Regions from separate parts of the Homo sapiens genome. Here region 1 is linked to region 2. The links are contacts of gene promoters, found by promoter capture Hi-C in blood cells and fetal thymus (Javierre and others, 2016). All regions are on one chromosome and are shown on one strand. The core of a region is centred on a gene start or on the middle of the fragment in contact, and the rest is flanking DNA. Distances in the headings are between cores, read along the strand shown. Region 1 holds the start of REDIC1 (regulator of DNA class I crossover intermediates 1). Region 2 holds the start of FLJ13224 (a long non-coding RNA gene).

Region 1 (7,012 bases), core at 1,894-4,393, 8.3 Mb before region 2:
CCCTTTATTAACTGTTTAAGTGTCTTAATGCAGACTCACCTAGTATCGCAAACTAACATTTTTCAAGTTCCTTAATACCTTCCCTTCCAACTCATCTTTCTCTTTCCTAAGAAGCCTTGCTGAAACCTAGATCTCCAATTTGATCAATTATTTATTTCACCTCCATTTTAACTTTTAAGAACCAGTGTTCGATTGTTTCCCTTTGGTGCTTGCTCTGTGCACTATTTCTGTCCTTCAAGGCTTAGTGTAACTTCCTGTTTCTCATTTCTCTGAATTTCCACAGCCCTTTTTTGTGGTACTTTTATTTACTTTATTTGTGGCACTCATCTTTCTATACAGCATAGGATGGAGGGCAAGCACACTCAACTCAAATCCTAACTCTGCCATTTACTAGCTGGGTGCCTCTAGTCAAGTCACTTAACATTAATGAACTATGCTTCAGTTTCCCCATCAGTAAAATGGGAATAATATTTGTATATAAATCATAGCATTTTCAAGAGCAAATGAATAAGCACTTAGAACAGTGCTTGTGACAATATTAAGTCCTATTTAAATATCTATTATTATAGTGATTTGCCTAATTTTAATCTCTACTTTCTCTCCTAGGTTCTTTTTGTGGACTAGATGTATTTTTCTTTTCTGAATCCCCCTGTACAGCTTACCAATTCCCTAAACAGGTAGTCAGGTAAAAAATATATTTGCTGAATTACTTTCTGTTGAAGGCTCTGGAATTGTTCTGAAGGAATTGTTCTCCAATCACTTCACTTGTCTATATTTTAAGTTCCTAACAGTTCTTCTTAAAATGTTCAGCCAAAAACATCCCTAACAATGGAGGGGGGTAAAAAGAACTCCAGCATGGTTTGGGATAAAGATTAAAATTTCTATTCTATTAGCTCCATCAGCTGCCACTAGTTACTAAAAGCACTAGTTCAGACTGAGGCCCTTTAGGACACTATGAGTGCCAAGATCAACTAATCTTGTGTACCCTTGCCTGTTCTGAAAATAGAAAATGGAGACACCCATTTTTTTTTATTACCAATCTGGGGCTTTACCCTAAGAAGCCTATCCCGCCACATAAAATTTATTTAAAATTGCAGTGTATCTGAACATTTCACAAGAGTTTTTCATTTCACTCTACAATGCAACCATGTTTGTGTGAAAGTTGATCACACAAATTGAGTCATTCTTGTGATGTCCAACCACATCAGAGTTGAGATGTCAGGAGGCAAAAGCACACAGGGCACATAGCATTGCTCCAAAAACATGATTCTCTGCAAGCCAAGCTTCTGAAACTGCCTAGGACCAGTTATACCAAATAACTACTAAAATGACCTTCCAGGAGGTCATTTTAACTACCACCATCACCCACCAGTCAAAGCTTGCCAGCTTCTCACAACTTCACTACTGTCAATGAACTTTCTTTCAAAACCATATGTAACATTTCTCTTTTTTTGTAAAATCCCCACCCTTTTCTTTGTTCTTCAGACATACCAAAGACATACTTTGTGTATGCCCTGAATTGCAATTCTGCCATTTCCAAATAAAACGTTAAATTTAGAGATTTGTCTCTACATTTTATTTTGACTTCGACGTTTGTATAAATTTAAACACATATTTTCTCCTAATCTCTGATTAAAACTGATCCTTCGGGGAGATGTAACCATGTTTCTTAAACCCCCTGGTACCTAATATCTCCAGATGCTGCACCTCCAGGTGCTGCAGTACACCTCATTTTCAGAAACACAATCCTAGGTTACATGTTTCCTGCAGTATATTGTTTTTGCATCCTCCCAGTAGCAACTAAAATATTACTCCCAAAATAGCCATAAAAGTTTGTGATATATGACAGAATAATAGCAACATCTACATTTTAATAGTGCTAAGCATTTGTAAAATTATTTCATATAATCCTATTTAATATTTTAAAGAATACTAAATTCAAAAAGATCACATTATAAGCATGTATCAACTAAATCCTGTTGAAGCCTGTAAGTAAATTTTCACTTTTCTCCAGAGTACGTCTGCTGCCAGAACACTAGCCAGAAGTAATTCAGGTAAATTTCTAAAATACAATGCTAGCATATTCAACAGGATAAAAGTGCATGCTAAAATTATCAGGCATAGCTACAATACTTAGTGAATACAAAAGCTGTCTTTCCTCCGATAAATTCTTTAGAATTCAAACGCATTATAATCTAACATATAATTACTGTCCTGGGTCTACTTGTGACAAAAAAATTACATGTAATGGCTTCTTGTTTCAATCAAAACAATTCTTCTCATCAAGAATTTTGATCAAATGAAATTACAGGCCCACATGATTTCCACCCAGCTGGACTTTAAGGTCAATAACAATGAATAGGTTATATAACACTAAATTTTCAATCTATCACGCTTTATGTGATCAATCCTAAATACAAAATAAATGGCAAATTCGCTCAAGTTATTCAAGTAAAAACGGTTCACTTTACTTCCCCTTAAAATACAAACTACAATTTGGATTTATGGTGATACTGGTGCCCTGCCATTGATTTAAGTGCAGCTGGGACTGGGCTGTTTCACAATTTCCAAATTCATGCAAAGACTATATATCAACTCAGAAGAACCTAAAAGAGGTGTAGACACGGAAAGAAGGCAGTAGGGGAGGGCTCAGGTGCTAAAAGGCCTCATTACAGTAACAGAGCATAGGACATGGAGAAGGGGAGGAGGGGCAGCAGGGAAGGTTACTCACAGTGGCCCCCACAGGTGAAGCCTTTGTAAAGGCAGTGAGTGGGGAGAAGCTGAGTTACTTTTGTCTGAGGAGTAGAGATATGGTTCTAGAGTCTCCAACCCGATTTGGATAACAATAAAAAGACCCTTTCCTACCAAGTTCTTTCCAGCTAAGGCTGTGACCTCTCCGCCAGGAACTAGAAAGAGGAGTCGTAGGAATGAATGTCCCAGCCTCAAACTCCAGCTGCACAACTTACCGGGACCCCCCGACCCAATTCATCTTCCCAAATCTTTTGACACTGAGGTCCCTGTGTCTAGAGCTCAGACATCTCAGCTCTGCGCCAAATCGCAGCTTCAGCAGGATCCCCCAGGGCCTCCTGACAACGTCAGGGCCCGAGTAAGCTCCTTCTGGTCCACCGCCTGAGGCCCAACCTCCCAACAGCCTCTGCGGCTTCTGCGTGTTCCTTCCGGTCCTGATAGGGCCGCAAGGGGACGCTGCGGCAAAGCAGCCGACCTGGCTGACATCGTTTTAATCGCTGAGGCAAGGCAGGCCTAAATAAATGAAAGCCTAAATTTTTGACAGGGGCCACAGGATTAGTGTTTCAAAACACCTCCATCATAATTTTATCTAGTTCTGACAGGTCTTTGACGTCTTTTTCGAGTCAGAGACCAGACTTGAGAAAGAAAAAGAAGGCAAGGACACAGTTAAGGATCGCTAACCCTAAAAATGATGTTTCCCTTCCCATTTATTACCCCATACCCAAATTCCTTAAATATCCTTCATGTGCAGTTTTAATACTCCGTAAACAGGTGTTTATAAGAAACATAGCGCTGTAGTAAGTTACCATTCTGTGCATTGAGTTGCTAAGAGAGCTTAAATCAGGCCGGGCGCAGTGGCTCACGCCTATAATCCCAGCACTTTGGGAGGCCAAGGTGGGCAGATCACGAGGTCAGCAGATCAAGACCATCCTGGCTAACACGGTGAAACTCCGTTTCTACTAAAAATACAAAAAATTAGTGGGACGTGGTGGGACGCGCCTGTAGCCCCAGTTATTCAGGAGGCTGAGGCAGGAGAATTGCTTCAACCCAGGAGGGCAGAGGTTGCAGTGAGTCGAGAGACTCCAGCCTGGGCGACAGAGCAGACTCTGTCTCTTAAAAAAAAAAAAAAAAAGAAAGAAAGGAAAAAAAAGAGCTTGATCAAAACTTAATTAGATGTAAAAGTCCAAAGATGTTAAAATCCTTACTGAAAAAAAAATCTCAAAACAAAAATTGAATTATGCTATTTGTTTCTGTATTAAGTTTGTATATCCTTACAAAACAATTATCTTACAAACTGTCCTATATTATTTTGGTTAGAAACTAGGCATCTCTTCTTCCAAATACATGCACAAATTACATTTTTTTAAATTGCCATGTTTTTTTCCAGAACATAACCTGGGGAAGATTTCACAATTTGATATATAATAATCGATTTTTTGTTAAGTCATTGGAAAATAGTACTTAGAATAGGATTATGTCCCAGGGTAGATATCTTGTTTAATCACAAAAATCCTGTTTTTTATGACAAAATTCACCAAGGTGTATCTAAAATTGAATTAGACCAAGTGAATTCAGCATTTCCGAGAATATCAGACTTTGACATGGAGTTGTTTTTTCAGTAACAAAACCATACAGGCAAGGAAGAAGCAATGGCCCTGTGTATCAGCCTTTCCTACTTTCAACATTTTAAAACATATTGACTAAATTAACTGAAAGGGGAAATAATTTGCTAAGGGATTAACTCTTTTTTTCTTTATTGTGAGTAAAGGGACATAAGGAGAGGTTGACCAAGTTGTTGGGTAAAGAACTAAGAGCTGGCACTCCATTTGTGGGAGCCAAAAATTAAAACAATTGAACTAACGGAGATAGAGACTAGAGTGATGGTTACCAGAGGCTGGCAGTGGGGGATGGGGAAGTGGGAATGGTTAATGGGTAGAAAAATATATTTAGATAGAATGAATAACATCTAGTTTTGATAGCACAACAGGATGATTACAGTTAACATTTATTATACATTTTAAACTAACCAAAAGAGAATAATTGGAATGTTTATAACACAAAGAAATAATAAATGCCTGAAGTGATGGATACTTCATTTACCTTGAAAGATTATTATACATCTTATGCCTGTATCAAAATATTTCATGTACCCCATAAACATATTCACCTACTATATACCCATTAAAATTAAAAAGAAAAATACATAAAAATTTTAATAAGAACTGAGAGCTGGATGGGCCATCTCTTCCCCCTTACTAGAGTCACTTCTTTCCTTCCAGTCACAGGGAGGCAGTGAATTAGGCTAAGGAAAGATTAACCTATGAGATACATGTTCAGACAAGATATTTACTGGGTTTTCCTTCACAGAAAAAGACATTTCCTTATGAACTAGGTATTAGGTAGTTATGTGTAATAGCTGAAATGTTGACCTAAAATCTCATTTTCAGTGCTGTTTATGCCTCCATGAGTAAGACTAGCATGACTGATAGATAATAAGAGAGTCCAATGCTGTGCTATTTTAGGGCCAGTAGAGCAATTAGGTAATCTCTTGGGTCAGGAAACAGTTCAAGAAAGCAATACAGCACAGATGAAATACTATTAAGCATTTGTTGAAAAGGAAATCCATTCGAAATTCTCAAACCTTAAACAATTTATCTTTACCTATTTCTAAAAATTATTTACTTTCTGGATATTCATAATCTGAACATGCAACACATATACAATATACATTATACATACATTTATGTATATACATATATATAATTCTCTTTATTACAAAAAAATTTCTGATGTTTTACAGTTCATAAAACATATATAGTCTCTAATTTGTATTCTATATATATAAACTCCATTTAATTCATTTCTTTCATGGATATTGGTAGGGTACATGAGAATATCACACTTGAGAGCACAGTGATTTGAGAATTATTGATTTTAAAAATTATTCTCATTGTTTCTCAAGATCTTTTCTAAGAAGATTTCTCCCCTCTTAAGAAAATTTTAATAATCTCCCATATAAACACACTTGAAGTTGAGACGTTTGTGTGGAAATTAGGCCTAAGTATGTTTTTTACTACAGTAACAAAGATTTTTTTCTCCTCTTTCCTAGTTTGGAATTCAAACTAAATTAACAGTCTCTTAGCTTTAATTGCATACTGTCAATAGAAAAAAACTGAAAGAAGGCCGGGCGCGGTGGCTCACGCCTGTGATCCCAGCACTTTGGGAGGCCGACGGGGGTGGATCACCTGAGGTCAGGAGTTCGAGACCAGCCTGACCAACGTAGCAAAACCTCATCTCTACTAAAAATACAAAAATTAGCTGGGCGTGGTGGTGGGCACCTGCAGTCCCAGCTACTTGAGAGACTGAGGCAGGAGAATCACTTGAACCTGGGAGGCAGAGGTGGCAGTGAGCCTAGATTGTGCCATTGCACTCCAGCCTGGGCAACAGAGTGAGGCTCCATCCCCCTCAAAAAAAGAAAGAAAGAAAGAAAAGAAAAAGAAAAAACTGAAAGAAGTACCTTGACATTCTTAGTTTTTTACTTAAATGCCATATATTATTGACCTAATTGTCCATATGGCTTCCTGTCTTCTTGAATCCTTCCTCTGCCTTATCTGAAGGCTTGTGTCTAGTCTCAGACACTAGGACCAACTCTTACCCTTGAGAGCAGGGAGAGGTGAATGGTGGGAGTGAAATTTAAGTGGTTAGAGTTAGGTCTTCACCTAAGTGGCTCAATATCAAATCAAATTTCACGTTGACATTTTCCACACTTCAAGTAACTCACTTTCAACCTTCCTTGTACCACGATTCAGGTAACAAAATTTCTGTCTTGATCATTTTCCTCATAAATAATTCTTCATTCTCACAAGTCTCTCACTCCAGATGCTGAAAGCTTGTTCCTGCACTATAACCTCATTATCAGTTGGTAAACTGACCTACCTCCAGCTAAGTCCTATTTGAATCTCTAGTGTCCTTTGCTTCTAGAGTTCTCACTGCCATGCTCCTCCCCTAATATGGCTGTCTCTGGTTGTATGTATTGCAAACCACTTGCCTCGACTGCCAGCTGCTGTCTGCATCCTTCTGTGTACCATGTTCTGCCTAACAACATCCTGCCATCACCCCCAGTTAGGTTTACTCTGGCCTTTAACCTGTCCTGTCACTGCTAACCCTTTTGTGTGTAGCTGTTAGGAGATGTGACATAAATGAAAGGCAACCTTATCTTGCATACAACAAAAGCAAGAGCTTAGGAATAAAAGATTTTGGCAAT
Region 2 (6,142 bases), core at 220-2,719:
AACCGAAAGTCTCGGGGCGGGGAAGTGAGTGGAGCCTGGGCATAATTGAGGAGTCGCCGGAGTTGAGGGATCCACGTTGAAGGTGACAATGACTTTTCTCCGCCGCAGTGTTCTCTCGCGGAAAGGAGCCCGGCGGCCGAAAGGCCCGAGAGGAAAGCGACTCGTTGGCCACCGCGCAGCGGCCGGGGTCGGTGCGTCCGCGTGGGCGCGAGGCGCGGGCAGGGTCGGGCGCCGTTGTGAAACCTCGTGGTTTAGTTGACTGCAGCCCTCGGACTAGGGTGGACAATAAACGCCATTCGCTCGGAAACTAAGTTGCCATCCGCTTCCGAGCTGGCGGCCGAGGGTCTTTAAATCGGCCTTTGGGGGTCAGTGCTGGGCTCTGCCGGAGCGCACGCGGCGTGGCGTTGTTTGCTCAACTCCGGAGGGATGCGGATGCGACAATGAGAGCAACACGCGGTCGCTTAAAAACAGCCCGTCTTCCACTCGCCTGCCCTCTTCGGACCGCGCCCAAGAGCCTCTGGTGTCCGGGGTGCTTTCGGAGCCCGAAGTTTTGCTCCCGGTGCGTTCACCTGTAGCGTAGGTGTGGGCGACACCGCGAGGGCTTCCCGTTTATGGGCGGCCGTCCGCGCTGTAAGATGGCCAGGGAAGCCAACTTGGCTGGAGATGGAGGCGGCGGCGTTGTGTACGCCGCGGGAGTCAGTGAACTCCGCAGGGCACTGCTTTTTGTGCTCTACGTGACAGACCACGTGCTTCGGGCTGCGACCCTGGTCCTTGTCCGAATGTCCAGCCCCGCGTGAGCCGTGGGATGCGGCCGCCGTCGGGCAGGTCCGGCCGGCAGGACAATGTGGTTTGCTGATGATGGCGTCTTGCCAGTTTAAAAAGCAGAGTGAAAGTCGCCAACTCTCCGCCCGTGCGGGGCGGATACTCCGGGCGTTTCTCATCAAGGACACTGCAAAACTTTGATTAAATGGGCCTGCTCCCGAGGGGAGGGTCGGGGGGCCAGGCTCCGGACTCTTCGGGGCGCGGGGTCCGGACCCCTACCCAGGGTGATCGTCCAGTGTCCGGCCCCTGCGAAACGCTCCGACATCCCTGATGCTGCACGTAGGCAGCGCCCGGCTGGACAGAAAACAAAGGGCTGCATGTGCCCGTGCGGGCCCCCGGCGCTCGGGGCCGCCGCCTGGGCGTAGGGCCGTGCAGGTCGGAGGCCCTCGAAGTTCGGGCGAGTTTCGGGAGGGGCTTTTGTCCCTCAGCCCCCTCGTGGGGAAACTTTGGCGGCGCTACTTGTGCGAGGTGCCATGCTGGTGCGTAGGGAGGCGGCGTGCTTCCCCGCTCCGGGCGTGCGGGCGGGCGACCGAGGGAGGCGGCAGTGCCCGGCGCTTCAGCCCTGGCGTCGGGGGTTGCGACGGCCGAGGGTTCCGGGGAGCTTGGCCCGGACTGCTCGGCCGGTTTCTCGTGGCCCGGGAGCCTGTGTCTGGGAGGTCTGTGGGTTCGCCTTTGAAGTCGAACTGTTGCCATGTTTGAATTACGTCAGGGCAAAGCCATGAGGAGGAACAAGCCCCGGCAGCGCGGCGTGCGGGAGGCGCGGCCTGCGGGAGGCGCCGGGCCGGGCTGGCGCGGGGCCCGTTGTTCCGGCGCAGGTGAGGGAGGTGGCGGCGAGCGACGCGGTTCACCTCCCGCTGCCCTCGCCCTCGCCCCGGCGAGCGGCCCCCGCAGGAACTTTCCTCCCGACGCGAGATGTCTTATTTACCAACAAATCCACCAGGGAGCATTCTTACTTGCTGGCTCGGCGTCTCTCTCGGCAGTCACCGGAGTGCCCGAGGGGGAAGCACGATTTACGGAAGGTGGGGACCCGAGGGCCCTGGGAGGAGCGGGGAGGCATTTTACTGCTTTCAGAGAAACGGGTGAGGGCGGCGAGCACCTCCTCCCCAGCCGAGCTGTGGCCCGCAAGTCCAGGGGACCCAGCCCCGACGACGCCCGATAAACCACCGTGGGGAAGTTCCGGGGCTCCCTGTTGCCCTACTAAGGGAAGTGAGGACTGTGGGCGAATTGTGCGTGCGGCCAGTTTCTTTGTGTGTTTCTAGGGGGTGGGGGGAGCGGGGAAGGGCAAGGTTTGTTTTGGTGTAGGGGGAGTTGGTTTCTTGAGGTGGTAGGGCGGTGCAGTTTGTTCTGGTAACTATGACCCTAGTCAGTTTCTTTGTTTTTATTTTCTTCCTGTAACCTTCCATTACTTCAGGCACTCGGAAGATTAGGATTTACTCTTGAGTTAAACAGGGACCCTATCCGAGACAGTTTTACCCCAGCAATTCTTTCTCCCCCTTCTTAAGTTGTCCTAAGGAGGGTTAAGAAAAGCTTTTCTTTTTCTTTTAATAATTTAAAAATGAATTTGACCTTGTTATTCAGAGTACGCTGAAAGCACCTGTTTTTGAACTGGAATTTGCCAGACTTGAAAAGCCTTTTAAAATTTTATGTCGCAAAATTGAACACATTTAGTTGCCCAATCTAAAAGTCTGGGAGTTTGTTTCTGGTGGAGTTTCGGAGAAAACCCTCATGGCATTTAAAGTATTTATATAATGATTTTGGGAAGGGGGATCTTTTTTAGGCGAAAGGTATGCGTGACTCAGTGTTTGGTGGTTATTCAGTGCCTTAGGATGACCTTGAAGAAGCAAATGTTTAGGGAGTTGGGCCTTTTGGAAACATTGTAAGGAGGCTGGGGAGCTGGCTGGGGAGGAAGCTGCTCAGGAAGATGACACAGGGTAACGGCTAGCTTCTTCCCAGATCCCGTGAACTGTGGTTGACCTTCTGGTTACCTCTCCTAGATTTTTCTTTTCAAGCTAACCTTTTCTTTTTTTGTATGTGGCCCCAGGCATAGCTCAAAAATTATGCTGGTTTGACACATGGATGCTTCTTTGGTATTTGGGGTTTGCCTGTAGTCTAGACATCCGATACCCACCACCATATCTGTTGCTTCTTTCCTGATTTCTCCTGCATTTGAATCATGTGTAAGGCCTAGAATCTAAGTGATCATTACTAGGAAATAATACCCTTGAATGCCCCTGCCCCCACACACCTAAAAATCGATACTAGTTGAAATCCATTTTTTTTCATTATTTTGTTATTAATAAACCTATTTTTCCCAAGTTTTGGTTGACCAAATTACAATACCAAAAGGCAACCTATATTAGTACATTTCTGTAGTAAATAGAAAGAGCATGTCAGGAAAATGAAAAACTTTGGACCTATTTTTCCCAAGTTTTGGTTGACCAAATTACAATACCAAAAGGCAACCTATATTAGTACATTTCTGTATTAAATAGAAAGAGCATGTCAAGAAAATGAAAAACTTTGGATTTAATAACTTTGGCTTTCCTTTCGCAGCTATTTCTCTGGGTCCTGTATTTAAAATGCATATGAGGTGCTTTGCAAATACGCTGAGATTGTTTGAGTTGTTTTTCTTAATTAGTATTTCATAGCTAAGTTATGGCTAGAATTTCCATTTCCTAGCAGATTTCATATACTACATACAGAGCTTAATGGTTTTTGTTTTACTAATTAGATGATGTAAAACAGAGATTTGGATTATCAATGTGAATGAATTCAGGGTGGGAAAGACCCACAGACAAGGTCTCTACTGCCTTCTCTTTGTATTGCTTTTGTGGGAGGTTGGAGATACGAAGTTCAATTGGTAGAATATTCTAGATCACTGGTGGACAGCAGGCCCCAAGTCTGTCTGTCCTTGCACAGTATTCTTAATTCTGTATATCTGGAACCTGAATGGTCAATTTTTTTTTTTTTCCCCCAGAGTGGTTATCAAGTCCTGGGAAATCCTGACTCATAGGGCTCAAACTCAGACATATTTATGTCAGAGAAGCAATTTAAGAACCATTTTACATGTAAAATAAAAGTTTTTCACTGGGGAAAGCATAAACTTTTAAATCTAAACCAACTATACAGGGCTCTTATGAGGATAAATTAATCAATTTACCATGCCAGGCACATAGTAGGTTGCTTTAAAAGTATGTCATTTTCGTTTTTTCTTAAGAGATGGTAGGAATATAATTGGTTGAGCAGAAAAGGAACACATGTATTGAGGCACGAAGTTTTGCTGTTCAGAGGTTTCTGGGTTAGTAATGCTTGGGTTTCAAAGCTGTCATCATCTTATAGTCACTTTGTGATCCAGTTTTTTTCATCTGTAAAATGGTAGTAATACCTATTTTAAATAAGTTGTAATTAAGCCAGTGACATGATTGATAAATATTAGCTGTGTTGTCCTCACAACACTGGGAAGTAGACATTTTACAGAAGATAAAACTGAGGCCTGTGTCAGTTATCGTTTCTGGGGAAACATTAAGTAAATTTTTAGTGGAAAGAATGAGTGTCTTTGGTCCCCTCCCTTACCTTAAGAAAGCAGTTCTGGGAAGACACTGCCCTTGACTCTTGGTTGTCTTTTCAATTCTGATTCAACCATTTTACATCAGAAAGTCCTGCGGAAACCTGGAAAATGTCATTTTTCTTTCTTCCTGATTTCTCTTGTCCACAAGATTGTCTTGTATTTCCCACACTTAAGTTTTGATTTTGGGGTGTTATAAATTGAGACTTTTTTGTTGTCTTTTGTTTCTCCAGTTTTTTATTGAATCTGCAACTAGGATTTTTCTGTATTATGGAAATAATCTGGAAATGTCATCTAGTCCAAAAAGGGAGTTTGTTTTCAAGGTAGGGAGGTTTTCTCTTTGCCTCAGAAATACTAATGTCACAGGTACACCGCTGTTACATATTCAAGTATGAAAGTTACAGTTGAACTAAAAGAATTTATTTCTAGCTTTGTATTTAGTTGTTTTCCACCTATTATAAGTTTGGTTTGGCTTACTGTTATTTTAATTTGGTAAATGTTAACTGTGCTGAGTTGAAGTAGCTCTCATTTCTCATTTCTCCCCACACTAGTCTAATTTCCTTCCCCCTGCTCCTGCTTGAAATAAGCAAGAAACATTTTTTCCTATAGCTTTTAAAACCTCAGGTTTTTTTTCCTGCAAAAGTCTATAGACCAAATGTTAAAAAAAGACTCCTTTTTAAAAACATTAAAAATATTTCTATGATCAATAGTGCAAACAATGACTCCTTTCAAAACATTAGTTTTTAAAATTCACGTCTTTATTGTAGACACCATTTCCCATTCCATGCCCTTAAATATACTGTTTATATTAATCTTGGCTGCCCCACTCTTTGAGTAGTTAGCAAATTCTACCCGTTTCTGTGTACTATGTACAGCCAGCACCTGGTTGTAATACAAGACTTAGTTTCTGCTCTACAGCGGTTTACTATTGAGTAGAGGAGATAATGCAGTAAACAAGAAGTGAAATCTTATGTGGTAGGTGTTCTAATAAAGGTATGGAAGGGTTTTGTAAAATAAGTAATTCTTAAGAGAATTTCCCAGGTCAAGGGGATAGAGGGTAAGCCGTCTCAGGCAGAAATAACAGCCTGAGTAGAGGGTGGCTAGTTATTAAAGTTTGTTTGACACTCCTAGAATATCAGAATTCCAAGTTGGGAGCAGCTGGTAGGCAGGAGCAGATCCTGAAAAGCTTTGAATTCCTTGCCAAGGAGTTTAGATACTATCATGAAGCCAGTGTTGGTACCTTGGAAGGGAAGATTAGTAGTTGAACTTTAGGAAGATATCACATGTTTAAAGGATGTAGGGAAGTCAGTTACAAGGTTCTGACAGGAGTTCATGCACCATGATGAGGAACAAACAGGCAGTGGGGATGGAAGTGAAGGAAGAAACAGAATTTCTAAGGACTTCACAATAAATTTGATGGAGGGCCATGCAGAGGGTGAAGGAAGAGCTCAGTTGGCTTCCAAGTTGTTTTTGTGTGACTGTGGATGACAACCAAGATAGGTAAATAGAGGAAGAGCAGATTTGGAGGGAAGATTATATAATCAATTCTCAGGGTATTTAAAGATTGGAATGGATTGGTGGTCAGTTGGCCATATTTATCCTAGAGCTAAGGGGAGAGATTGGACCAGGGAATGAATAATAGGTATTACCAATAAGGTTGGTTAGTAACTTCCTGCGAGTGGATTGCCCAAAGACAGAAAGCAAAATGATACCTGAAATGTAAGAGGAAAAAAAGAGAGAAAGAAGAAAGATTGG

Evidence for each region. The method cuts DNA at HindIII sites, captures the fragments that hold promoters and counts their contacts. A CHiCAGO score of 5 or more calls a contact.
Region 1: the fragment with the promoter of REDIC1 here is called in contact with the fragment with the promoter of FLJ13224 in region 2 in 3 of 17 cell types (naive CD4 T cells, naive CD8 T cells and non-activated CD4 T cells); the score reaches 6.1 in naive CD4 T cells.

The regions. Positions count from the first base shown.
Region 1 is chr12:39,622,314-39,629,325 of GRCh38, reverse strand. It overlaps REDIC1 (regulator of DNA class I crossover intermediates 1), which reads right to left and starts at 3,143. Exons shown (of 13, transcript NM_001031748.4): 1 at 2,967-3,143. The coding sequence starts at 2,989. The HindIII fragment of the contact is 5,259 bases long and covers 1,381-6,639 here.
Region 2 is chr12:31,319,643-31,325,784 of GRCh38, reverse strand. FLJ13224 (a long non-coding RNA gene) reads right to left here and starts at 1,469. Exons shown (of 1, transcript NR_026806.1): 1 at 1-1,469. All of the region lies in intron 1 of SINHCAF (SIN3-HDAC complex associated factor), which reads left to right. RefSeq lists an enhancer at 1-546. The HindIII fragment of the contact is 3,270 bases long and covers 1-2,351 here.